Linked DNA regions of Homo sapiens: all the other regions are linked to region 5. The links are contacts of gene promoters, found by promoter capture Hi-C in blood cells and fetal thymus (Javierre and others, 2016). All regions are on one chromosome and are shown on one strand. Each heading gives the region's core, a stretch centred on a gene start or on the middle of the fragment in contact. The rest is flanking DNA. Distances are from core to core; before and after follow the strand shown. Region 1 holds the start of TFB2M (transcription factor B2, mitochondrial). Region 2 overlaps CEP170 (centrosomal protein 170). Region 3 overlaps SDCCAG8 (SHH signaling and ciliogenesis regulator SDCCAG8). Region 4 overlaps SMYD3 (SET and MYND domain containing 3). Region 5 holds the start of DESI2 (desumoylating isopeptidase 2).

Region 1 (5,021 bases), core at 500-2,999, 1.9 Mb before region 5:
TTTTTTTTAAAAAGTCAGAAATTCAACGACACATTTCTATGAGTGAACCATGAAGACATAATTCTATTTTATCTGATTTAAAAATATTTAGGACTCCAGGTCCTGGAGGGGGAAAAAAGTGTATTTCTGAATCTATGAAAATGTTTTTTAAGGGGAGAGGGGGAGGCAGCTCAGTAATGGAGAGAGGTTCAGAGGATGCAAAGTCACCTCTAGAAAATTGTCAGTGAGAAAACTGTACGAAAAAAGAATTTAAGCAAATTAAGACCAATGAGTGAGTCCCCACAGTTTGCACAACAGTTGATGAGATATTTTCTATGATGTCCTAACAAATTTATAATACACAAAAGGTCATATTTAGTTGTCAATTCTTTATCCGCTTGAGCTTCATCAGATGAGTATAATCTTCAGACTATTTGCTGGGTGATACATTCCTTAGGAACCTTTTCCTCGTGCATTTAAATGCCAAACTCAATTACACTCTCAGTAGAGTAAGCAGAAAGGATTGTACGTATTCTAAGACACGGAGTTGATTGGCTGCCGTTTCTTGCCTTGGTGGTAAGGATAATGGGTAAAAGCTCTAAGTTTGATCCTGAAACACGGAAAACACTCTCAAAGAACCGTGTCTTCTAACATTGCCCAATAGGTAAAAAAAAAAAGACTGCCAAAATTTCCATTACAGCATCCTATTTTTAGTCTTCAAAATTGGGTCTTTTAAATCGCATTCCACAGTACGATGTGTTTGACTAAGTTTACATAAGGAATACAGTAAGCATCCTAAAGTCTTAATCTTTTTAAGCTTAGAAAGGAATTGTAAGCTTTTACATCTTCATTTTTAATCTTAACTTTAAGTCTTTTAAACACACAAACTGAAAAAATTAAGGAAAATATTGGCCCAGAGAGAGGAATGGAAGGGAGACACCACGCGGTTCTTGACAACCAAAGTGGTAGTGATGGGGGGGACCAGGTGTGGGGGGGAAATGAAAACCATCCACGAGGGTGGGGAGAGCGGGCTGTGGGCCACACAACAGAAAGGAACGGAGACCGTGGAAGCCGCAGGCTCCTCCAGGAGCCGGGTGAGGAACGACTTCTGGCGCTAGTCCCCTAGGGAGGGAGAAATTGGCGCGACGCGCAGCAATAGGAGACCCACAGTAGCTGAGAAAGGAGAGGAAAACAGGCGACCTGAGAGGCGGAGGAGGTAAGGGGACCGGGCTACACCTCACCCGGAGGGCAGAGGCTGCGCGGCTGGAGGAGGACAGCGCAGGGGGAGGAGCGAGAGGCTTCCGAAAGGCTTTCCATCCCGGCCGCGAGCCGGCGGGTCCCCTGCATCCCGCTCCTCCTCTCCTCACCTGGGAATCGGAGGCGCAAGGAGGGCTACCGCTGGGCGCCGGGTCTGTTTCCAGCCCCACTCGGCGACATGGCGGCCGACGTGCTGTCACGGAGCTTGCTCGGGTCTCCCCTGGCTCCGGTGGAGGAGACACCTCTCGCCTTTCCGCCCCGCCTCCCTCTGCGCACCCCTCGCGGCTGGCCGGCTGGAGGCTGGCGGCCCGCGACCGCGGAGCATAGAGCACTGGCGGCTAGAGAGGAAGCGCAGAGCGCGGACAACCATAGAGTACGAGTCCGGACACCAGCCGGATGGTCGGTCGCTCTCCTCAACGGTCCACTCACAATCCTCGGGCGGCTGAGCCGAGGCGGAAGCGGAAGTGAGGGAGAAAAGCAGGAAGGCTCCGCTGTTCGCATGCGCAGGCTCTAGTGTTTACTTCCGCTTGACCTGGCCCGGACGCCAGAAAATGTTCCACGTGGGATACCCTGCGTGGGGTTCACTGTAGTAGCTGCACTAGGTGATTCTTGGAGCGGGCCTGAGAGACAAGGACATGTGGATCCCAGTGGTCGGGCTTCCTCGGCGGCTGAGGCTCTCCGCCTTGGCGGGCGCTGGTCGCTTTTGCATTTTAGGGTCTGAAGCGGCGACGCGAAAGCATTTGCCGGCGAGGAACCACTGTGGGCTCTCTGACTCCTCTCCGCAGCTGTGGCCCGAACCGGATTTCAGGAATCCGCCAAGGAAGGCGTCTAAGGCCAGCTTAGACTTTAAGCGTTACGTAACCGATCGGAGATTGGCTGAGACCCTGGCGCAAATCTATTTGGGAAAACCAAGTAGACCTCCACACCTACTGCTGGAGTGCAATCCAGGTGAGTCCAGCTGAATTGCATTTTCTTGGATGTTCATCATTTATTCAAACGTATTGACCCTCCTCGGGGTGCTATTTTAGATACTGGGGGGTCTTTTTTGTTGTTCTTTTGCTTTGAGACGGAGTCTCGCTGTGTTGCCAGGCTGGAGTGCAGTGGGGCGATCTCGGCTCCCTGCAACCTCCGCGTACCGGGTTCAGGCGATTCTCCTGCCTCAGCCTCCCGAGTAGCAAGAACTACAGGCGCGCGCCACCACGCCCAGCTAATTTTCTTATTTTTACTAGAGACGGGATTTCGCCGTGTTGGCCAGGATGGTCTCGATCTCTTGACCTCGTGATCCTCCCCCCTAGGTCTCCCAAAATGCTGGGATTAGAGGCGTGAGCCACTGCGCCCGTCCAGATACGGGTCTTTGTTTGAAGCTCCTTAGTTGGAGAGATTGCCCACTACATAAGCGTAGAGTCTGTATCGTTAATGACACCACAAAGTATTTCTGTAGCAGCTTGCACTTTACACAATATTTTGATAAAACATGCTCTTAGATCTTATCTCCCCAAAAGAGTTGCAAGCCTCTGCCAGCTGAAAAAATGATGTTATCTTATTCTTCCGTGCATTCCCTATAGACCATAGCAGGATGCTAAGAACACAAGATTTATAGGCTTTTTGAATGATAGTTTTTTAAAGCACCATTTCATATCACAGGGAGTCAGTTCTGTTTAGGCTTGACAATCTCTTTGATGGTTAAAGCATCCGTGTAGTCCGTGAGGAAGTGATAGGCTAGAGGCAATCTATTTTGCTGTGACTTTTTTCTTCTAAGAGGTAGTGAATCATGGTGATGAAGAGTGCAAGTTTTGACCTGGTGCGGTGGCTCACGCCTGTAATCCAGCACTTTCAGAGGCCGAGGCGAGTGGTTCCCTTGAGGTCAGGAGTTCCAGACCAGCCTGGCCAACATGGTGAAACTCCGTCTCTGCTTAAAATACAAAAATTAGCCGGGCGTGGTGGCGGGCGCCTGTAATCCCAGCTACTCGGGAGGCTGAGGCAGGAGAATCGCTTGAACCCAAGAGGCAGAGGTTGCAGTGAGCCGAGATTGCCCCACTGCACTCCAGCCTGGGTGACAGAGTGAGACTTCGTCTCAAAAAAAAAAAAAAAAGAGTGCAGGTTTTGCAGTCGCTGACAATGATTTCAAAGCCAAGCTGCATCACTTTTGACGCTGGAGTCAAATAAGTATATATAATCTCCTGTTTCCTTATATGTAAAAAGGAGAGTGACATCTACTTTGCGGATGCTGTCAGATTTAAAAACCAGGTAATAACGTGTGAAACATCTAATGAAAGTTTGGTATTGAAAGAGATTATGTTTCTTGTACAAATAAACTTTTCGTTCTGTTAATGTGCCAGGTCCTGGAATCCTGACTCAGGCATTACTTGAAGCTGGTGCCAAAGTGGTTGCGCTCGAAAGTGACAAAACTTTTATTCCACATTTGGAGGTATATTTTTAGTTTCTCAACGTATGTTATTGTTTGTTCAACTATCTGTGAGTGGTTTAAGGAAATGGAATTAAGCACACAGTGTTTTACATAGAATATCTTTTAGGGAGCCATCTCTGAAATATCTTGTTTATTCCCAAAGACTAGAACACAGTTAATATTCAGTGCTGTTGAATGGCTGAAACATGAGGAGTTCTAAGACTTGTTTGCTAGTTCTAGGTCGGCTACAGCCTAGTTGGGTGACTTTGAACAAAGCGTATAACTGGCATCCCTAGGCTTGTTTCCCCATTTCTACTAAGCTGCGCTGTGCTCCTTTCTTCTGTGAGCTTGGAATCTAATTGGAATAAGTGCTAATATTAGGTTAATGGATCTGTGTAACCTCTATATTTAGGGTTTGAAAGGCAAGAAAGGTTGGCATACAAATTAAGTATTTTATCTGAAATGCTTGGGAACACAACTGTTTTGGATTTCAAATTTTTTCATATTTTGCAATATTTGCATATACATAATGAGATATCTTGGGGATGGGACCCGAGTCTAAAAATTCCTTTTTTGTTCCATATACATCTTATTCATAAGGCCTAAAGGCAATTCTGTATAATATTTTAAATAATTTTGTGCATTAAACAAAATTTGTGTACATTGGACCATCAGAAAGCAAAGGTGTCACTATGTCACCCACCCATGTGAACAATCTCCTTGTTTGACATCGTCATCATCCCTGACTTTTTTTTTTTTTTTAAGATGGAGTTTCTCTCTTGTCACCCAGGCTGGAGTGCAATGGTGCGATCTCGGCTCACTGTAACCACTGCCTCCCAAGTTTAAGCGATTCTCCTGCCTCAGCCTCCCAAGTAGCTGGGATTACAGGCGCCCGCCACTATGCCCAGCTGACTTTTGTATTTTTAGTAGTGACGGGGTTTCACCATGTTGGCCAGGCTGGTCTTGAACTGCTGACCTCAGGTGATCCACCCACCTTGGCCTCCCAAAGTGCTGGGATTACAGGCGTGAGCCACCATGCCTAGCTCCTGACTCCGAATTTATATGCTTCTGATAAGCCATCATTTTCTTACACTTATTCACACATGAGTGCTTAACAGTAGAAAAAATGACATACCATTAGTACAGTAAAAAAAAAAAAAAAAAGTGTGTTCAGAGAAACTAAGCAGCACAGCAGCATCAGAATCCCTGTGTCAGCTGTTGAACAGTGGAAACACACAGCGGCAGGCTTTCAGTCTCCTGGGATGCTGTGTTTTCATTGAAAGGTTACTGTACACCACATTTTATTTTTTCTTAAGAAGAAACATCAGAAGCAGCTGAGGGACCAGGAAGCGGGTCCGTCAAGGCTAAGGAGACATTC
Region 2 (5,053 bases), core at 342-2,841, 1.4 Mb after region 5:
TTGATAAATACATACACACATAGAAGTGTTCCTGTGTGTAAAAATCTCCGCAAGTGATTCCAGGTCTAAGAGCCATTAGCTTAAGGTGATCTCCTTAACTAAGGGTTGTCTTCTAGGGAAATAAGGTGGAACGTCTAACCGTGATGGTGAACGGCTTCACTTTCAAAGTGAGGAGATGAATCTTGGAACGGATCATATGGATTGCTTATTGCAATTCTAGTCTGATTTATTTTGTATTAAATGGATTGTATTCTTTTTTTTGAGACAGAGTTTCTTGTTGCCCAGGCTGGAGTGCAATGGCGTGATCTCAGCTCACTGCAACCTCCACCTCCCAGGTTCAAGCAATTCTCCTACCTCAGCCTCCTGAGTAGCTGGGATTACAGGCATGTGCCACCATGCCCAGTTAATTTCGTATTTGTAGTAGAAACAGGGTTTCACCATGTTGGCCAGACTGGTCTCAAACTTCTGACTTCAGGTGATCCACCCTCCTCAGCCTCCCGAAGTGCTGGGATTACAGCCCGGCCAGATTGTATTCATATTACCAAGTAATCAGAAAATTCCCAGTGAATTTTATGTCAGATTTCTAGTATGGCTATTGGCCTATTGATAAAACTTCACCAGAAAAGTTTATATTGTGCCACTATTACCTATTAATATTTGCTGAACATTTACTAAAGTTTCAGGCATCCATACAAGGTACAAGAGATACCAGGATTACTAAGTAATAGCCACTTTACTCAAGCAACTCAGTTTATAAGGGAAAATAGACAAAAATGAATATATTTTGTACAAAGAAGTTTAGGAGTTGCTGTAGGTATATGTGAAGGGCAAGATAGGTGGTCAGAATTGAGAGGCTGGGAATTCTATGGGTGTTTTTCTGGGGGAAGTGATTGCTGGAGAAAGCTCACTATGAAAGGTCTTGGGACAGCATAGAGCTTTCATTTTCAAATTCAGTTGGACATGGAATACAAGGGAGGAGCAGAGTAACATGGGGAGATAACAGGGCTTTTTACTCAAAACTGAAGAGTTTGAATTCTATCTTGAACTCTATAGGGAGCTATTGAAAATTAGGGAGTGAAATTATTACATTTACTTTTATAAATGTAATTTTGATAGCTGGATAGAGGAAGGATTTGGAGAGTGGGAGGCTAGAGACAAGGGATTCAGGTAAAAGAGTTCTGCAGTAATTTATTGGTAAGAACCAGTGGGATAAGAGGAAAGGCACAAAGAAAGATATTTAGGATGTGGAATCAAAGGGACATAATGACTTACCTAACTAAAGCGGGAGTGGGAGAGAAAATATCTGGTCAGTTGGTGATGCCATTCGCTAAGACGGGGAGAACAGGAAAAAAGGCACATTTCGTTAGATGAAAGGGTTCTTTCTGTTTTTTAAAAATTAAATCTGAGGAGTCCAGGAGGACCTTGAACTGGAAATGACTCGTAAGCAGAGGGAAGGTCTGATCTTGTAAAAAAGGTTTTGACTTGAAATTATATGTGTAACATTATAATAAGCAATATTGGAAGCCCAGGGTTTTCAAAGAAGTCCCAAAGAGATTATGTATAGGGAAGTAACCCCGTAAAAACAGAATTTAAAGAAAAAGTAGACACTTTCAAAGAGATTGAGGCGTGCCCACAGAAGTGAGAGGAAAGCAGACTGATACTTGTAGAAGGCAAGAATGGTCAAAGATATTGAGAGGTAATTTAAGATAGCAATACTAGAGATCATTAGATTTAACAGGAGGACATTTTCAACCATGAACCGTTAGCACCATAGTTCAAATTCCAAAAATTACTTTGACTTTGGAAATTCAAATTTACTACTAATATGTGGACTGAGTTCTGTTATAAAATTACTTTCTGATTAGATGATTTGATTTTTTCTTTAATACATGTATATATACCATACACTCTAGTACATTTGCTAAAAGAAAATTCAAATATAATGAGGAAAATTATACTTTTAAAAAATGATCTACCATTAGGTTTTGGGTTACTTCCACTTGTTGGCTATTAATACCAATAATCTTTTATCTGTGTTAGCTTCTGTTTACCCTCAAAATTGCAGAAGCTCTTCTCTAAATGAAATATATCACTATTCTTTTTTTTTTTTCCAGGGCAGTTCACTGTGTTGCCCCAGCTAGAGTGCAATGGCACAGTCTTGGCTCACTGCATCCTTGACCTCCTGGGCCCAAGCGATCTTCCTATCTCAGCCTCCCTTGTAGCTGGGACCACAGGTGCACGTCACCACACCTGGCAATTTATTTATTTTTTTTATTTTTTTGTAGAGACAGGGTGTCACTTTGTTGCCTAGGTTGGTCCTGAATTCCTCGGCTCAAGTGATCGTCCCACCTCGGCCTCCCAGTGTTCAGTGTTCTTTAGGCTGGCTGTGCCTAGCGATTCCCTCCCTTAAGAGAATTCTTGTATTTCACCTTCTCAGAAATAATCAAACTACAGAACAATTCCATTGAACTGTTACATACCTCATGGCATTCTGGTAAAGATAAACCTAATCACTTTAAACATCCATAGCCTAAGAATTACAGTATATGAAAGAACAGTCTTGCCAATACAATGAATATTTAAAAATTTTAGACAAAAGATAGACCCGATTGTTTATATAATTTACTACTTTGTATGAAAGTCATAATGATGCTGTCTTTTTTAAGATGGAGTCTCGTTCTGTTGCCCAGGCTGGAGTGCAGTGGTGTGATCTTGGCCCACTGCGACCTCCACCTGCCAGGCTCAAGCAATTCTCCTGCCTCACCACCCCCAGTAGCTAGGATTACAGGCACCCGCCACAAGGCCCAGCTAATTTTTTATATTTTTAGTAGAGACGGGGGTTTCACCATATTGGCCAGGTTGGTCTCGAACTCCTGACCTCAGGGTGATCCACCCTCCTCGGCCTCCCAAAGTGCTGGGATTACAGGCGTGAGCCACCATGCCTGGCCTATAGTGATACTATCTCAATTAAATTAAAATACAAAGCACTTTATTTTCTTTTGATTAGATTAAAATTTTCTTTTCCAGCATGCATTATTTTATCAGCTATTCTGCATGTTTATATACTATAAGTATGAGGTATTTAACGAAAGCGATCCTTAAGGTAAATAATAGTGTCATTTGTTAGTTTGAGAGCTGAACTAGCTAGAGTGCCACTAGCCATATATGAATATGTAAATTTAAATGAATTAAAATTAAATGAAATTTAAAATTCATCTTTTTAGTTGTATTAGCTGTATTTCAAGTGCTCAATAGTTAACACATGGCTTGTGGCTAATGTATTGGACAGGAATATTTCCATCATCACAGTCTGTTGCACAGTGCTGGTATAGAGATATTTATAAAAATTATAATTTAACATGAAGATAAAAAGAAAAACTGCATAATTTAGGCTAGTAATTAGCAACTTACTGTTATACAGTAAAGTGTGTTAGTGATATATTCACTAAATACATTCTTGCTTAAAATAGACTCTGAGACGTTTCAGTTTTCTACACTTTGAAGTTTCAATTCACTTTTCATATGTTATACTGATAATGCAATGGAAATGATTTGTACCCACCTCCCAAATAGTTAATGTATAGTGAATCAGAAAAGGTATTGAAGATGAACAGAAACCATTTTTAAAGGGCACAAGAATTAGTGATATGCTAAAATTAATTGCAGACACATGGCAGAGAAATTGTTGTCCTGCGTGAGCTAAGAACAGTGAATCAAAGCATTTGACTTTCAGGATCGTAACAGACCCTTAACCCAGACTGCTTTCCTCCCATTGTCACTCCCTCCTGTAGACAGTTTCAGGTCTTCCAGACAGCTTTGTGTGGCTTTTCCTGCTCCTAGTGCTCTATGATCTGACAGTTTTTTAGATTTATAGTTATTTAGTGAACCTGGAGATAGTTTACTATTCTTTCAGAGTCTAGGTTTCTAATCCATGCTATACCCCAGTTTACTAAATTTCCCTCGTTTCTCTAGATTGATCCGCTGATTTTTGGCCAGCTGATTTTTGGTTTTTGGTTTTAATAACTGATTGATTCTTTCTTGTCTGTGAACTTCTCGAGGAGAGAATCTTGGAGCCTGCTGGTGGCCAAACAGGAGGCTGAGAAGATTGAAAATAGGCTGAAATTTACATGAACTGTCAGCATTTATTGCCCAAACAGAGTGTTAGAGAACTCGTTGTTAAGTTAAAATATATTGCATATCATCATACTCCAACTGTAGCCAAATCCGAGACTGGCAGAATCACCTGCATCATTTCGAGGTATATTTAAGAAAAATACAAAGGAGATAGTGATTTGTGGGAAAAGCCCCATATTTGGTAGCTGAAGGCCCAGATTTGAATCTAGGTGGTTCCTGTTTATACTGCATTTGTAACCTTGAATAAGGCTTTAACTTTAGTTTTCTTAAGGGAAAAATGTTTCTTGAATGCTTGTTTTGGGAGTTAAATGAAAGAATGCAAGTATTAATAGAAGCAATTAGCACAGTTACTGGCACAAAGGAGGTACTTGATAAATGTCTGAATCTAAGTCAATTGATTTTTTGGTGTAAAGCAACAAAATTATGCTTTAATGAGGGTAGTACAGTTCTACAAAAGCAAACAAGTCAGACTTTACGTGTTTCATAAACTGACAGGGAAAACCTAGCAAGAATTTTTAATGCCTAGATAATTTATGGAAAAGTATAACTTGTTTTTTCTTAGGTATTTTCTTTAAGCACTTTATTGAATGTTTTTTATGAAGAAATCTTTAATTAAATCACTGGCTTGCTAGCTTTTCCCATCAAATCTAAATCTTCTGTTAAAAATATATAATAAACTCAGACATAGAATATGTGGTGTGGTATTTGGAATGTCATCTTCACTTATTTTTATGAGAATTTTTTTTTTTTTTTAGTTTTAATGCTATATCAGATTTAAGTTGCAGCTTATATTTTTTCTTTAAACCTATTTGCTTTAATTGCCTTTCACAAAAGAATTAATAATGTATATGGCAGATGATAAAGGTAAAATTTAGAGTAGTCATTCCAGAATAATCATGAGTGTATGAAAGCAGAAATT
Region 3 (4,596 bases), core at 1,751-4,250, 1.4 Mb after region 5:
CCATAGAAACATTCCCAAAGACAGTAGCTTTTCCTAACCTTCTTCTCTTATTATAATTATAGCTTATACCAAAAAGTAAAGGCCTATACTATGTTCTCTAATGTGCTCCTTATGGTGTTAATAGGGAATAGTTCTGTCTTCTCAACTAGATAGTAAATTTATTCTGCTTTATATCTTTCAAGTTTTATCCACAACATCTTAGGGATTAATAGAGTATTGTTAATGAAATAGTTCCTAGGATATTATTTCAGCTTTACTGGTAATCCAGGACCACGTGTATATTAATAACTGTGTCCTCCAAGAACAAACAGGAAATTACATGTTAAGATCAGAAACTCCCCGGTAAAATCAGGACAGTGAAACATCTAAAGCCTCCTTAAGTTACATACTGGCCTTGCATCTTAAAATGTCAACAATATAATACATAATATCATATACTATATATAAAAACATGATACAAGAGATATCAGTGATTCCTATAAAAATATCATACAATCGAATACACTGATACTAGAAAGAAAGAAAGAGGGAGGGAAAGAAAGAAAGAGAGAAAGAAACAGAAAAAAAAAAGTAAAACACGACATACTTCGGGAAGATGAAAAGGCTCTATTAGCATTAATGACATTAGCAAACTGCACGCAGTTGAGCATATAACCTTCTAGTGTCATAAGCTATATATGATGTGTTTGGTTTCTTGATCATTACTGTCAGTACCCTATGAACCATTCTCATTCAAAGTCAAAGTAAGAGCCTTAATACTGACAGCGGAGAAGAATTGGTCTACCAGTTTAGAATCCCTGATTGCTGTACCACTGCTCCAGTAGGTTGACAAGTATGGGAGAATGATTGGTATTTGTATTCCAAAGCATTTGCCATTTGCTGGGCTACAGCAAGCGGGGTGAGAAGGAAAACTTCTGAAATATGAAAGCATATTATGAAATCATTAGACATAGTAATGAACTACTGGGAAATCAAGCAATCAGAAATGGTATGGTCAAGAGCATCATTCCCAAGTCTGACAAGCTCTTGTGACACATCAGTCTCTCAATCACGTAAGAATAGCAATTGTCAATGTATTGCTACAAACATGAAGATTTATAGCAGCAAATTTTAATACAATCTATAGTTAATATAAGCTTTCATTTATTTAGTTTTAAATTCTTAATGAGAAACTTACCTTGCAGAACTTAACTTCTGCCTCTAAATGATGAATATATTGAGACTGGTCATTAATAGTATGAACAAGGTCGTGCATAGTAGGCATATTGGTTTCCTCATGTTCTAATGACCTCTATGACAAAAAATAAATAAATAAATACATAAATACATAAATTTTAAAAAGCCAAATTAAGCATGTTTGGATTTAGCAAAGAATCAGTTGTTACCTTCTCCATACTCAATTTTGCACTGATGTGATATAAACATAGAATCGATCACAATGTAGCTTATAGTCTTGATATAGTTTGGATGCTTGTCCCCCACAAACCTCAAGTTGAAATGTGGCCCCCAGCATTGGAGGTGGGGCCTGGTGGGAGGTGTTTCGGTCATGATGAATGAATCTTGGTGCTATCCTCATGATAATGAGTTCTTGCTCTGAGTTTTGGTGAGATTTGGTTGTTTAAAAGAATGTGACACCTCTCCCACTTCTTGCTCTGGCTCTCACCACATGAAATGCCTGCTCCCCTTTCACCTTCCACCATGACTGAAAGTTTCCTGAGGCCCTCACCAGAGTGAGATGCCAGTATCACACTTCCTATACAGCCTGCAGAACCATGAGCTGATTAAACCTCTTTTTTAAATAAATTACCCAGCCTCAGGTATTTATTTTTAGCAACACGAGAATGGACTAATACAAATACTTGCTTCTCTATCCTATAAATTCCACAAATACACAAGATTCATGGATGTGAATATCATTTTTTTTAAAGATGGATGGTGAAAGTGGTTATAAAAAGCACATATAGTGAATGGAAAAATGCTGGGGTAGCAGTAGTATAACTGGCTTGGAATAAACTATTTTAACAAATTGGAAAAACAACATTCCATTCAGTAATGCTGAGATACAAGGGACAACTCTCTCCAAGAAACTGCCATGGAAGAGGATTTGCTAGCTAAAACTGCAGCAGCTCCGTGAAGGAGAGATTCTTTAGGAAGCGTTTGATGCCAAGCCAGTGTCAATGCGATGAAATTCCATCTCAAAAAAGATACATTAGCAAAATGTAGTTTTTGATTTTTGGCTCTAGTATTGAAGGCAATTCAAGTGTATGGTGTTCTGGAGCATAGAACCTCCAAGAGTAGAACCCTAAAGTAGAGACACACTGCATTGAGGGGTCCAACGAAGAGATTTCAAAAAAACGCTAATGCTATTTTAGCTCTGTAGCATTCCTGGAACTGACTGTTAATGTATAGCTTACCTTATCCTAAAATAGTTTGTAAAATCATATACCCATCACATAATTTTTTTTTTAAAGGATGAGGAAATCAGGAAAAGGTAAAACAAGGGTCAACCAGTTAAACAAAGCCAGAGGAAAGCTTGAAATGAGGCACAGTGTCTGTTTCTCAGCCACTCTCTTTCTCAGCACAGCAGACATTTTAAATGATAATCAAGTACCAGCTATCATGGCAGAATAAAATAAAATAGAGCTTTGGTTTTTTGGTATATTTAAGAAATTTAAAAACCAAAGTAACTCTAATTAAATGAATTATCTGTCCTGAGTAGAAATCAAACAATTATAATCATCCTCCATTAATAGCAATAGGTTCAGAAGATAGGCAAATATAAATTACTACTATGAGTATACAGGAGGAAGTCAATGTGAAAAATAAAAAGCTCAAGCCAATATTGTATGAAAAATGTTCACATGAAATCATTTGTGTCTACTTTGAAGGGCTTTAGTTTAGATATCTACATTTTAAGACAATAAGTAATAACTTTTTTTCCATCTCAACAGTGCCTCAGTTTTACTCTCAATATATGCATGTATTTCTAATATGTTATACTGGCTATGAAAGTGCATTCTAAAGGTATAATCTTAAAAAGCTAATTATTACTATTATGGTTTATAATTATTACATGTAGGCTGTATACATATAGAGTCTAAGTTCCATTCTTTTACATAGCTCCATATAAATAGACTTGTGTATTTTAAAGTGCACTCTGTATGTACTAAACTGATTCTCTTAGTGAAGGTCTTCCTGCCTGTCTGGATTCAGTAAGCTCCATAATATCACTGCTCAGACTTTAAAAGGCAAATAAGCATGTCTGAGCATTCAACAGATAAAGCAACTTCATCTAGTAGATTTAAAAGCATTCCACCAGTCTGTGCTTAAGAGCAAGCTAGAAACCAGATGTCAATAGTAATAAATTCATTAAATGATGAGATGTTTTACTAAAATTATAAAATCTGTATCTATAAATTTAGAATATGCATATGAAGTACATTTCTCTAAAGTAGGAATTAAGCTTAAAAGTATGTGTCAGCCTGGAATGGAGTGTTCGTATGGGAGTGATACTCTGATATTTCAGTGGTGAAGAAAAGAAAGTGACATGTCTCCACACTTTTCAGCATACAGGCATTGTATTGAACTAGAAAACACATTGAAAATGTGAGGTGGTTACTTGCTGCTATGCATGTTATGTTTATGTAACACTTCATAGGTTTCTAAAGAATTTTAAGTATGTAATCTTATCTCATTATTCCAAAAACTCTGTGAGACAGGCACAATATCTTAGAGAGTATGTGATAGACCCTAGATAGAACTAAGCCCTTGACTATTATTTTGTCCACTTAAATCTGGTCCAGAGTGCTTTCACTCACATCTATCTCAGCCTTTAGCATATAAAATGCTTTAATCAGAAATAATACACTCTGTCAAAGCAATAACAAACAACTTCAGAAGAAATACAGCACCACTTCTTATATATCATACTATTTTATAACCATATATTTTAACATATAGAACATTACATATTAAAACGTATTATTTTGAGGCCAGGCGCGGTGGCTCACACCTATAATCCCGGTGCTTTGGGAGGCCGAGGCTGATGGATTTCCTGAGGTTCAGAGTTCGAGACCAGCCTAGCCAATATGGTGAAACCCCATCTCTACTAAAAATACAAAAAATTAGCCTGGTGTGGTAGTGCACATCTGTAAACCCAAATACTAGGGAGGCTGAGGCAGGAGAATCGCTTGAACCAGGGAGGCAGAGGTTGTAGTGAGGCGAGATCATGCCACTGCACTCTAGCCTGAGCAACAGAATGAGACTCTGTCTCAAAAAAATTAATTAATTAATTAAAAATAAAATGTATTATTTTGACACTCAAAATTTAAAAAATATTACAAAGTAGGGCTACAATTATAATTAAGTAACTTCTAAAAATGATCAATAATAGATATGACCCTCTAAAAAAGAAATTACTAAAATAATGACTTTATCTTTTACATATATTCTGACATATAATTTATTATATTAATTTATTATATATTATATATTTATATTACATATTTTGCTAACAGTTGCAAAATAAATTCTCCAAACTATTCCCTTGCTCCCATTTTCCAAGTGAATAATAAATTTAAAAAATCAAGATTCCCT
Region 4 (5,124 bases), core at 1,023-3,522, 1.3 Mb before region 5:
GCTTCTTACATACCAGATCAGAAGCCAGAAGTCTCATCCTGTTTTTAAAAACAGGACTTTGAACATTTTTATTTTTCTTAGTGTGCTAAGAAAATAATGCCAGCGGCAGTAACTGCACGGCAATCCAGTGGTCTCTAGTCTTATAAGAGCTTATAAAGAAAGGCTTCGTGTCTTACCTGATAAACTCCCCTTGACTGTTTTACAGTTAAGTGAAACCCCAATTTCTGGCAAGATCTGAAACTTGGTTTTTCTTTTTTGTTGCCTGTTTAAAATATCAGAAGTAAGCCCGTGAAAGCTATTAACATGTATTCAGGCCGACTTTGGTTTCTCCTCTATGGATGTTTCTAGAAACATAGTGAAACAACACAGCAATGATTGGTTTTGCGGTTGTTGAGGTCAAACCTTGGCACAAGATTTTTGGTCTCTGTTTTCTCTTTATTGTTCGACGCAACCCACATGCAGGTTTGTTTCTCCATCTCTTCACCTCATCTGGCTGACATGTTGATAGGAGCTTAGCCAGGCTGTCTGGCCACGAAACCTAAAATCATATGGCTTGTTTAGTTGGTAAGGACATGGAGGAATAAAATAACCATGTGGACGGCACTGTGCAAGGTCTTCAATGACAGAGGCGTTGAACTTCAGGCAGAGTTTAGCGATCATCTCAACCGTGTCCTTGTTTCACAATTCTGGGATCAACATCCGCAAAACTACACTTCTGACAACATCAGGATCCTCTAATATTTCATGTATACTCATCTTGCAAGATAGGTTGTAAAATAAGATGAGGAACCTGAAACAATGAGCAGTTAAGCCACTTGCGTCAAGTCCCAAGGGTGGCAGGAAAAACAGAGCAAGGAGTGAGATTGATTACTTGCAGCCTTTGGATTTCACCATGAAGTTGGTGGTTTTTAAATGGTTTTTTCTCCCCTAACATCGACCTTTCTCCAGTCAAATGGTGGGAAACCTCACATGTAAAACAGATGAAATACAGCTGCTGGCTCACGTGGGAGGCTGTGTCATGTGGTATGATGTTTAGAAGGAGGGTCTTGGAAGCCAGGCTGCTCTGAGCCTCAGTTTGCCCATCTGCAAAGTGAGGATAACTACTATACGTGCCTCACAGGGTTACCGTGGAAATCAGCGAAATCAGTTCCCAGCTGTAATAACCGTGCAGTTTATTCAGTCAAAAAACTTTTATCCGGCAGCTTACTGTATTCTGGGCCCTGTTAAAAGGACGAGGTGATGGCTGTGAGGAAACAGGAATCCCGGCTTTCATGGAGCCTACATTCTCAGTCTCAAAATACATGTTAATTATAGTAACATGTGTCGAAGGGGCATCAGACCCCTCCTATTGATACCTCCTCTGTGTGTCTGGCTCTAAAGGTTCCTTAGAGCACTGTGTGAAAACCACTGTCCTAGGCTACACATCTTAACATCTAGGATGTTTTTAAGAGCTGGAGTGGGGAAAAAAAATGGAATTATATGACAGTGTTTAAATTTTCCATTACTGACATAAACTATTCCAGAAACAACAGGTAGAAGAGAAGGATGATTTAGGCCTCCAGTTTGGAGAGTAATTAGTGACTTGTCTGCTTTTCCTTCCTTAGTCATCTTGAGCACTTGCAGCTGTGCATCTTCCTTTGTGCCTGATGCAAGCTGATATTTTAGGGTGAAAGGGTGAGAAGGAAATTTAGATTCAAAGTGCTGACAAGATAAAGTACATTCTGTAAAGATTCATTCCCCTTAAAATTGGAGTTCTTACCGAGATATCTTCACTTAGCAGACTGATGTCAGGAAAGTAAAAAATGGAAGGGAACTTTGTGGTTGAAAATTATGTTCCTAGAAATGAGGGTTGACCCTGTTTCTATGAGAAGAGAGAGCATGTGCGGCTCTGCTGATGGGTACAGAGAAGTGCCTTTGTGGTAGCGCCCAAGGGAGAATGCAGAGTAGACCACCATCTCTACTCTGATTGTTTTCAATTCTTTCTCAGATGCCTACAAACATTTAAACCTTGTCTGACTCTGCCTTCCCTTGGTAGTTTTAAGGCATATGGAAGAATTTCAACAAACTGAATTGATTTGGGGGAGAAGGAGGTTAGATTTTTTTTTAAATGTTGCCATTTTAAGGAGCTAGATAATATACAAGAGACCTTTGGCCTTCGGCCTTCCTGTGGAATAGGTCCCGAGGGAGTTATGAACTTCCAAATGTGAAAATGCCTATGTAATTATTTTTCTCTCTGTGAAAAATGCAAAGTATATCTGAAAAAGTTAAGTAATTCCTCTAGATGTGTAACGATTCTATAAATTCAGGATTAAAGTAATTTATAAGGCTAATTTATGCCATTTATTTATTTATTTATTTATTTAGAGACAGAGTCTGGTTTCTGTCACCCAGGCTGGAGTGCAGTGGCATGGTCTCAGCTCACTGCAACCTCCACCTCCCAGGCTCAAGTGATCCTCCCACCTCAGCCTCCTCAGTAGCTGGGACTATAGGCACACACTACCACACCTGACTAATTTTTGTGTCTTTTTTTCGTAGAGATGGGGGTTTTCCCATGTTACCCAGGCTGGCCTCGGCCTTCTAAGTGCTGGGATTACAGGTGTGAGCCACTGTGCCCAGCCCTATGCCCATTCTTTAGTGCTGGTAATAGAAATGAACCAATCTATCAGTTGGTTTTCATGTCGGGGTCATTTTCAGGCAGAAAAATAGATTGTTGTCCCTTGACCTAAATTGTCTGCTTTCATAACAGAAAGCCAATGATAACAAAGCCATGTGAATCAGTCTTTTCCTGTGGAGTCAACCTTACAACAAGGAGGATTCAAACATCTTCAGTGAAGTAGCAAATGATTACATATCACAGATCTTTGCATCAAGCAAGGTCAAGTATGCACGTGTTAACTCAGTGAATTCTAAGTATCTGATTAAATTTTGTAAGTCAATGCCAATTTCCCTTTGGACTCAGAGTTTACCTGCATAATTTTGTTTTATTAATATTTTAAAATAAAAAGATATGTGGCCGAGCACATGTGGCTCACACCTGTAATCCCAGCACTTTGGGAGGCTGAGGCTGGTGGATCATTTGAGTCACGAGTTTGAGAGCAGCTTGGGCAACATGATGAAACCTTGTCTCTACAGAAAATGGAAAAAGTTAGCCGGGCATGGTGGCACACACCTGCAGTCTCAGCTACTCAGGAGGCTGAGGTAGGAAAATCACTTGAGCCTGGGAGGTCCAGGCCACAGTGAGCTGTGACGGCACTACCATACTACAGCCTGGGCAACAGAGCAAGACCCTGTCTCAAAAATGAAAAAAGAAAAGTGATGTTGTCCAGTGAACTAAAAAAACAGAGATTTTACTCATTTTGTTCTGTGAATGTTATGCTTTATTTAGAGAAATGAGCCATCAAACAGGGAAGACAGCACTGGTATAAGATGAGCTGGCAGAGACCTTCAGGTGGTCACAAGAGAACACAGTGAGCAATGGGAAAATAAGGCAATTCTCTTAGCACTGGAAGGCGTTTAACAGACCATCTAGTTGGTCAGCTCCCCCTAGCTTACCTTTCACCCTTTGTTTTATAAATAGGGAAACTGAGATGAAATCACCCAAGACTTTTGGGACTGTCTACCAAAAATCACACAACCAAGTCAGAGCCAGAACCCAGGTTTTCTAACTATGATAGTTGTGTTACTGTTGTGCCATCCTGTCTTCTGAGATGTTGGCCCATCTTCATCAGAAAACTTTGATCTGGAGCTGTCGGGAGCCGTAGAATAACAGAGCAAGCATGGATGTCTTGGCTTGCCTAACACTGCTCCTCACTTAGTGTAAAGAGCTCTTGGCCGGGCATGGTGGCTCATGCCTGTAATCCCAGCCCTTTGGGAGGCTGAGGCAGGTCAATCACTTAAGGCCAGGAGTTTGAGACCAACCTGGCCAGAGTTTGTTTGTTTGTTTTTTGTTTGTTTGTTTGTTTGTTTTTTGAGAAACTCCATCTCTCCTTAAAAAAACAAAAACAAAACCCAAAAAATTAGCTGGACATGGTGGCACACGCCTATAATCCCAACTACTTGGGAGGCTGAGACGTGAAAATCGCTTGAACCTGGGAGGCGGAGGTTGAAGTGAGCTGAGATCATGCCACCAAACTCCAGCCTGGGAGACGGAATGAAACTCTGTTTCAAAAAAACCAAACAACAACAAAAAAGAGTTCTTAATGCTCCTGAAAGTTATTATCTAGCCTCTGCTTAAATACTGGTTCATGAGATAGCCCACTCCCCCAGGGTGGTGATCCCAGATATACTACCCTTTGATTTCTGTCCCAGTTCTTCTATTTGGGGTCTGGAGCACCTATGATGTGTCAGTCACTGTACTATATGAAAGAGATACAAAGTAGGATAAAATGTAGCTTCTTCTTTCTAGGAATAACCCTAGTAGTAAAAGAAACAGACAAGTAAATCAGCAATGATGGTTCAGTGGGGTAAGTGGTATTGTTAGGGGTATGTACTTTGCTACGGAGGAGGAGAACCTAAATCAGACTGGAGAATGAGGAAAAGCTTCCTGAAGGAGGCAACCCTTGAGCTAAGTTTTGGAGTAGGAGATAGATGAAGCAAGAGAAAGGGCAGTCACACGAATGAAAGAGCCTGTGGAAAGTACATTCATCAGCACAGCACTTTAGAAAATGGTGTATGGTGTTCTGTAGGGCTGGAAAAAGGGAGATTTGTGGCCGGTGATGAGAGGAAGGGTGAGGAAAGGATGCAGAGGCCAGATTGTGAAGGGCCTTCATGGATAAGCAGTCTGCATCGTGTATGATTGTATTGTCAGAATGTTATTTTATAGCTCATTCCTCTTAAGATGCTTTCAGATTTAACTTGTCCTGCTTTGGAACATGAGGATCAGAAAAACCTGGATTCAATATCTGGCACCACTTAAGCCTCTTTGAGCCTTAGAAGCCTCGTTTGTGAAATGAGGGTGATAGTAGCTTCTCCCAACTTTCGTGGTAAAAAAAGAATCTAGACAGGCACCTCATAAAGTGCTGGGCTCATTGCAGATAGAAAACCCGCTTGTTTCTCCCCCCCGCTTTTTTTTTCTCAAAGTCTCTGAATAATTACATTCAGCGTCCCTACCTTGTCTGCTAGGAG
Region 5 (5,009 bases), core at 1,048-3,547:
TTAAAAGTCTAATAATTCAACTATTTATCATTCCGATAAACATTCATATGCTTCATCTCCTGTTCACAGGCAAAAGCAATATAAAGACATAAGTGCAGGAATTAGTAGAGAAGATAGTGAATCAGATTTTGGTCTACAAATTCTAGATTGTATTTTTAGTTGTTTAGGCAGATCACTTACTCTCTCCCCTGTCTGCTGCTTCTCTAACTACCTATTTTACAAACTTGATGTGAAGAATAAGATCTCGCTCATTAGTCAATATTTTAACATCGTTCAGAACAGTCCTCCCTTCGAAAATACTGAATACCATCTCTAGCTTTTCCCAATCGACCACAATTTGCAGATTTTCCTGTATCACAGAATGCCTCAAGTGTAAAGAAGCCCACTATATGCCAAAACATGCATTTTCGTTTTCATATAAAAGGTAAAACTCTCTTCCTCTATTCTCACAAATTCTTTTAGGCTCTGAAACCATGGCTTCTGGCCACTGTATACTCCTAATTTAAATACGGGTTTGTTTAATAATCTAGGAGAAAAGGCACACTGTGATCTCAAGAGCAGAATATATTCTGAAAGACAGTAATAGCCCTCATGAATAAAAAACAAACCAAATTCAGATTAGGGGGATGTGCACAGAGAAAGTAAAAGGGCAGTTAAGAGTCTTGAAAGATAAAGGTGTTCAGCTGAACACAAAAAGTTTAAATCCAGAGAATTATTTCTCAACCAGTGACACAGGCCACAGAACTTACAAAGTGCCATGGTTTTCTAGGATCTTTTGTTTGGCTTATTCTCCTCTTCAACTTTTTCTGTCCTGTTCCACTTTTCTCAGCATGTTAACTCATCTCCTTTCATCTCCAGGCTCACATCAGAATTCAACAGAGGACTCATCTCAAGTGGCAGGCAGTTCCTACACCCTTCTGACACAATTCCCAGATATGGCATGAGAAATCCCACTCTACCCAAGATATAATAACACTGTAAATTTAGAAACTTATAAATAATACAAGGGAATACAAAGTTTAGAACTGTATAAGACTCTTGGCCTGTAGTATTTCTGCTCTCCTGCATCTTTAAGCCAACAAAAATAACGACGGGCAATTTTTCATTTGTCAGTCAACTTACAAGGAATTTTAAGCACTGCAGTCAGAGGTACTAATCCAGTCTACAGAACAAAAACCCATTCTACAGAACAAAGCAAGCAAACACACCCAAACATGCATCTAACTGCAACGACAATTCTCTACCGGGTGCTTTTTTCTGGGGGCATTTCACTGCAAAAATCAGGCAAACCAGTTCTTGGACTCGATTCTGCGTGCTTGCCATACTCCAAAGTTAGATGATACAATAAACAACTTCTTCCCTTCCCTCTCCCGTGGTCACGTCACCTGTTGCATCACCTGGAAAGTGGTCTTCAGAGTGTAGGAAAGGAGCACCACCAGGATCTCTAAATAATTCAGCTGGGCTATTTTCTTGAGAAATGTTAGCCTCATTCATATTTTAACGAGGTTGCCTTTAACACACAAGGAAAGGGTGTGTTGGCTCCTGTTCACCTTTGAAGAGATTCTAGCACAGGCACCCGAAAGCTGTGACCTTCTGGACTTAGAGGGGCTTGGGAGTTTCTGAAGACGTAGCCATGGAGAGAGACGGACAGTTCGGCAGAAGCAGAGGAGCTGGGAGCGCAGGCGGTCGGGACGGGGGTCCCGGGGCAGCCCCGGGGGCCGGCAAGTGGGGTTGGAAACGCAACGGAAGCTTTGCCGAAAGGACACTGCACGTCGGCCAAGGGGTCGGGCCCAGAGCCGGGGTCGGGTCCAAGCTGAGCGGATGGGAGAGGTTCAAGCCCACCCGAGCTTTGGCCAAAACCCTCGGGCTGACTGGGTTCACCGGAGCGTCGACGAGTGCGAGGATTAAAAAATAACAATACTCCCTCCTTCACCCCCGGCTTCCCCCGAGAACTAGGCTGGAGGCGGAGACGCCAGGCAGGAAGCGCCTGGGGCCGGGGTCCGAGCCCCACGGGCGAGAGGAAGCCGGCCTGGGCCAGGGCTCGGGGCCGCCAGGGGCCGCACTCACCATGTCGTACACGTTGAGCACCACTAACTGGTTAGCCCCCATCCTCCTCCCCGCGGCCGCCGCCTCGTCCTCAAGCCGCTCCGTCTCCGCGGGGCCGGAGGCCGCTCTCACCCCCGCGGGCGCTTCAGGGGGCCTGAGCCGGGCACTAAGCGTACAGCCCGGCCCGCGGCAGCCGGGGCGGAAGCATCGGGCAGCCGAGCCGCTCCCGGGCGCCGCCGACAGGAGCGTCTGTGCGGACGGGGCCGGACCGTTGGCGGCCCGCTCCGGATGAGGCACCTCCCCTAGGCGGCAGACACGTGGGGAAAGGCGGGGCTTGAGCAAGGGGCGGGCGCCAGGCGCCCCGGGGGCGGGGCCGGCCCGGCGCCAGGACTGAGCCCGCCTGCGCTCTGGTTCTCGGCCGGCGCACCTCGGGACCTAAAATGGCGGCAACTCCGGCGCCTCCGCGTCCTGGAGGAACGGGGACCCAGGAAGACTACAGTTCCCAGCATGCAGTGAGGATTCCCCCTTGCTACTATAAGTGCAGAGGCGGAGTCTCAACAGCCCTTCGACTACAACTCCCTGCATGCCGCGGGGGCCCCGGTCCTACCAGACCAGGCCTCCCCGGGAGACTACAACTCCCAGCATGCAGTGCTTTAGAGCTGCGGCAGATCCCTTGCCGCCCGCGGGCGGTGAAATCTCCTACCTTCATTCACCCTCTCATCTCAGGTGCTGCTGCTGTTAGTAGTTCATGTTGCGTTGAGCTCGATGAAGCCAGCGAAATGTGGCAAAAGACCAGAGTGATGACCCTAAGTTTTCCAAATGCTTCCTCACCTTTTATTTGGCAAGGGGAGTGGTGGGGAAATAGAGGAAGACGAGTTACTGGTGTGGGATGAGGTGTAACGTGCATCCAATTAATCCTCAATGTGGAATTTACATTTTGTGAAACTATCCTGCTGAGATGGGAAGGGTACAGTAACCGTAGCTTAGCACAATCCTGGGACGTAGTATGCAGCTCTGCATTAATTCAACAAATGTTTGTTATGTGCTTCCTATGTGCCAGGCAGTGTTGTAGGCCCTCGGGAATGCCGTGATAAACAGGAACAGGGACATACAAAATATCACTGGTATGTGCTTTGCAGAAAATTTAAGTAAGGTGAAGTCATTCTTAAATTGGCTGCACGGGGAAGATCGCTGTAATGAGTTTTAAGCTGAAATGTGAATGACAAAGCCAGCCCCGCAGATATGAGGGGGAGGAGTATTTCAGTCAAAGGGAACAAATGCAAAGATCTGAAGCATGAAGGAGTTTTCTGTATTCAAGGAAACAAAAGATCACTCTTGCTGGGACACAGTAGGCAAGGAGTCGACGGTACTAGATGAGCTGGGCAGGTAGGCAGAGGCCAGATCCCGGAAGGATTTTAAAATTCATAACAGGGGTTGTATTTTAAACGAAGCCATAAGTTTGGACCAGGGAGTGAAATGAGTGTGCGTGTGTTTAAAAATGATTACTTGGGTTGCTGTGTGGAAAATGGATTTCAGAGAGGCAAAGGAGGTGGAAATAGGGAGATGAGTGTGGCAGATTGTGAAAATAGCCACAAATTATTTCCAGTCTCCCAAATTATACTCTTTGGTGGTGTCTACCCCCACTGACTGCACTGGACTGTGACTTGCTGTGGACGTGGGACATTAACATCGTGCAAGCAGAGGCTTAAAAAACACTTGTGAGTTGGGGCTTGCCCTCTTGCTGAACTTGGGAGTCCTGTGACCACCATTTTAGGAATGAGTGTGGGCTAGCCTGATGGATGATGAGGGACACGTGGTCAAGTCACGGCCCACATCCAGCTGACAACCAACCAACTGCGAACATGTGAAGCTCTCCCGGACTATCCTTCCCTGGCCACAACCACATGGATCGGACGAACTGACCAGCCAACCCACAGAATGTGAGAAATAATGTTTTAAGTCACAAAGTTTTGGGGGTGGTTATGTGGCAAAAGTTAATCAAGTCCACCAATTGGATGCTGTTCCAGAAGTGCATGCCAGCAAGTGGCTTCGTTGTGGCTGATAGTGGTGGAGACCGAAATAATTAGAGTTTAAATATTTTGGAGTAAAGTCTGTGGAACTTGCTAATGGGTTAGATGTTGAGTTGGTTAGGGAGAGAGGATTCGAGAATAACTTCTAGATTTTTGACTTGGGGAACTGAGTGGATAGTCCTGGCACTTCTAAGATGTGAAACATTTTGGGGAGGAGCAGGCTGGGGGTAGGGAAATCAAGAGCTATGGTTTGGTCATGCTAAGTTTGAGATGCCTTTTAGACATCCATGACTGCCAAGTAGTAGACATTTGAATAAACTGGAGTCATGGCCATTTATAGACTTGGGGCTTGGTTGGATGACCTAGGAATATGTGTAGCTAAAAAGAAGTGGGCCAAGAACAAAGCTCTAGGACCCTTCACCATGTAGAGGTCAAGTAAAGTATGAAGAGGAAGCACGGAGGCAGGAGGAAAATCAGAAAGAACATGATAACATTGATGTCAAGACTATTGGATTCAGCAATATAGAAATCACTGGTAGCTTTGATGTGAGCGGTCTCTGGGAGGAGTGAGATTTAAATAACTGCTTTAACAGTTTGAGAAGCAAATGTAAGGTGACAAAAGGGAGACAACTTAACTTGGGGGCAACAGCTGGATAAGGCGGTGTGGTCAATGGAGGGCATTTTGAAGATGGGAGATGCTGAGGCATACTTGCATGTAAAGGGAGAAAAATTGATATAGGAGAGGGAAAGATTTGCAAGGGCAAAGAAGGGAGAGGGATCCAGGACACAAGTTAATGGTTGCTGTTTAGTAGGGGGGATGCTTCATCTGTAGTGATGGCATAGAAGGCAGATGCAGGTGCACAGTTACGGCATAGAAGGCACGGAGACGGGTAGGCAGGTTAGAAATACGGGAGTGTAGGAAATGAGGGTGTT

What was found. Contacts are between HindIII fragments. The CHiCAGO score rates a contact against its expected background, and 5 or more counts as called.
Region 1: a contact is called between the fragment with the promoter of TFB2M here and the fragment with the promoter of DESI2 in region 5, in 3 of 17 cell types (total CD8 T cells, non-activated CD4 T cells and fetal thymus). The highest score is 7.5, in total CD8 T cells.
Region 2: a contact is called between a fragment that was not itself captured here and the fragment with the promoter of DESI2 in region 5, in 1 of 17 cell types (neutrophils). The highest score is 6.9, in neutrophils.
Region 3: a contact is called between a fragment that was not itself captured here and the fragment with the promoter of DESI2 in region 5, in 1 of 17 cell types (neutrophils). The highest score is 5.2, in neutrophils.
Region 4: a fragment that was not itself captured here is called in contact with the fragment with the promoter of DESI2 in region 5 in 1 of 17 cell types (non-activated CD4 T cells); the score reaches 5.0 in non-activated CD4 T cells.

The regions. Positions count from the first base shown.
Region 1 is chr1:246,562,989-246,568,009 of GRCh38, reverse strand. It overlaps TFB2M (transcription factor B2, mitochondrial), which reads left to right and starts at 1,749. Exons shown (of 8, transcript NM_022366.3): 1 at 1,749-2,184; 2 at 3,576-3,664. The coding sequence starts at 1,872. It overlaps CNST (consortin, connexin sorting protein), which reads right to left and starts at 1,554. Exons shown (of 11, transcript NM_152609.3): 1 at 1,347-1,554. RefSeq lists enhancers at 950-1,449, 1,490-1,549, 1,780-2,059. The HindIII fragment of the contact is 6,532 bases long and covers 818-5,021 here.
Region 2 is chr1:243,235,515-243,240,567 of GRCh38, reverse strand. The region is part of intron 1 of CEP170 (centrosomal protein 170); the gene reads left to right. Among named protein-coding and RNA genes, the nearest start is that of CEP170, 17 kb to the left of the region's middle. The HindIII fragment of the contact is 8,921 bases long and covers 1-5,053 here.
Region 3 is chr1:243,271,238-243,275,833 of GRCh38, reverse strand. SDCCAG8 (SHH signaling and ciliogenesis regulator SDCCAG8) reads right to left here. Exons shown (of 18, transcript NM_006642.5): 4 at 1,178-1,291. Among named protein-coding and RNA genes, the nearest start is that of SDCCAG8, 17 kb to the right of the region's middle. The HindIII fragment of the contact is 931 bases long and covers 2,535-3,465 here.
Region 4 is chr1:245,957,967-245,963,090 of GRCh38, reverse strand. All of the region lies in intron 5 of SMYD3 (SET and MYND domain containing 3), which reads left to right. Among named protein-coding and RNA genes, the nearest start is that of SMYD3-AS1, 150 kb to the left of the region's middle. The HindIII fragment of the contact is 4,538 bases long and covers 4-4,541 here.
Region 5 is chr1:244,650,414-244,655,422 of GRCh38, reverse strand. It overlaps DESI2 (desumoylating isopeptidase 2), which reads right to left and starts at 2,297. Exons shown (of 5, transcript NM_016076.5): 1 at 2,068-2,297. The coding sequence starts at 2,109. RefSeq lists a silencer at 1,784-2,553 and enhancers at 2,634-2,793, 3,053-3,626. The HindIII fragment of the contact is 4,542 bases long and covers 1,752-5,009 here.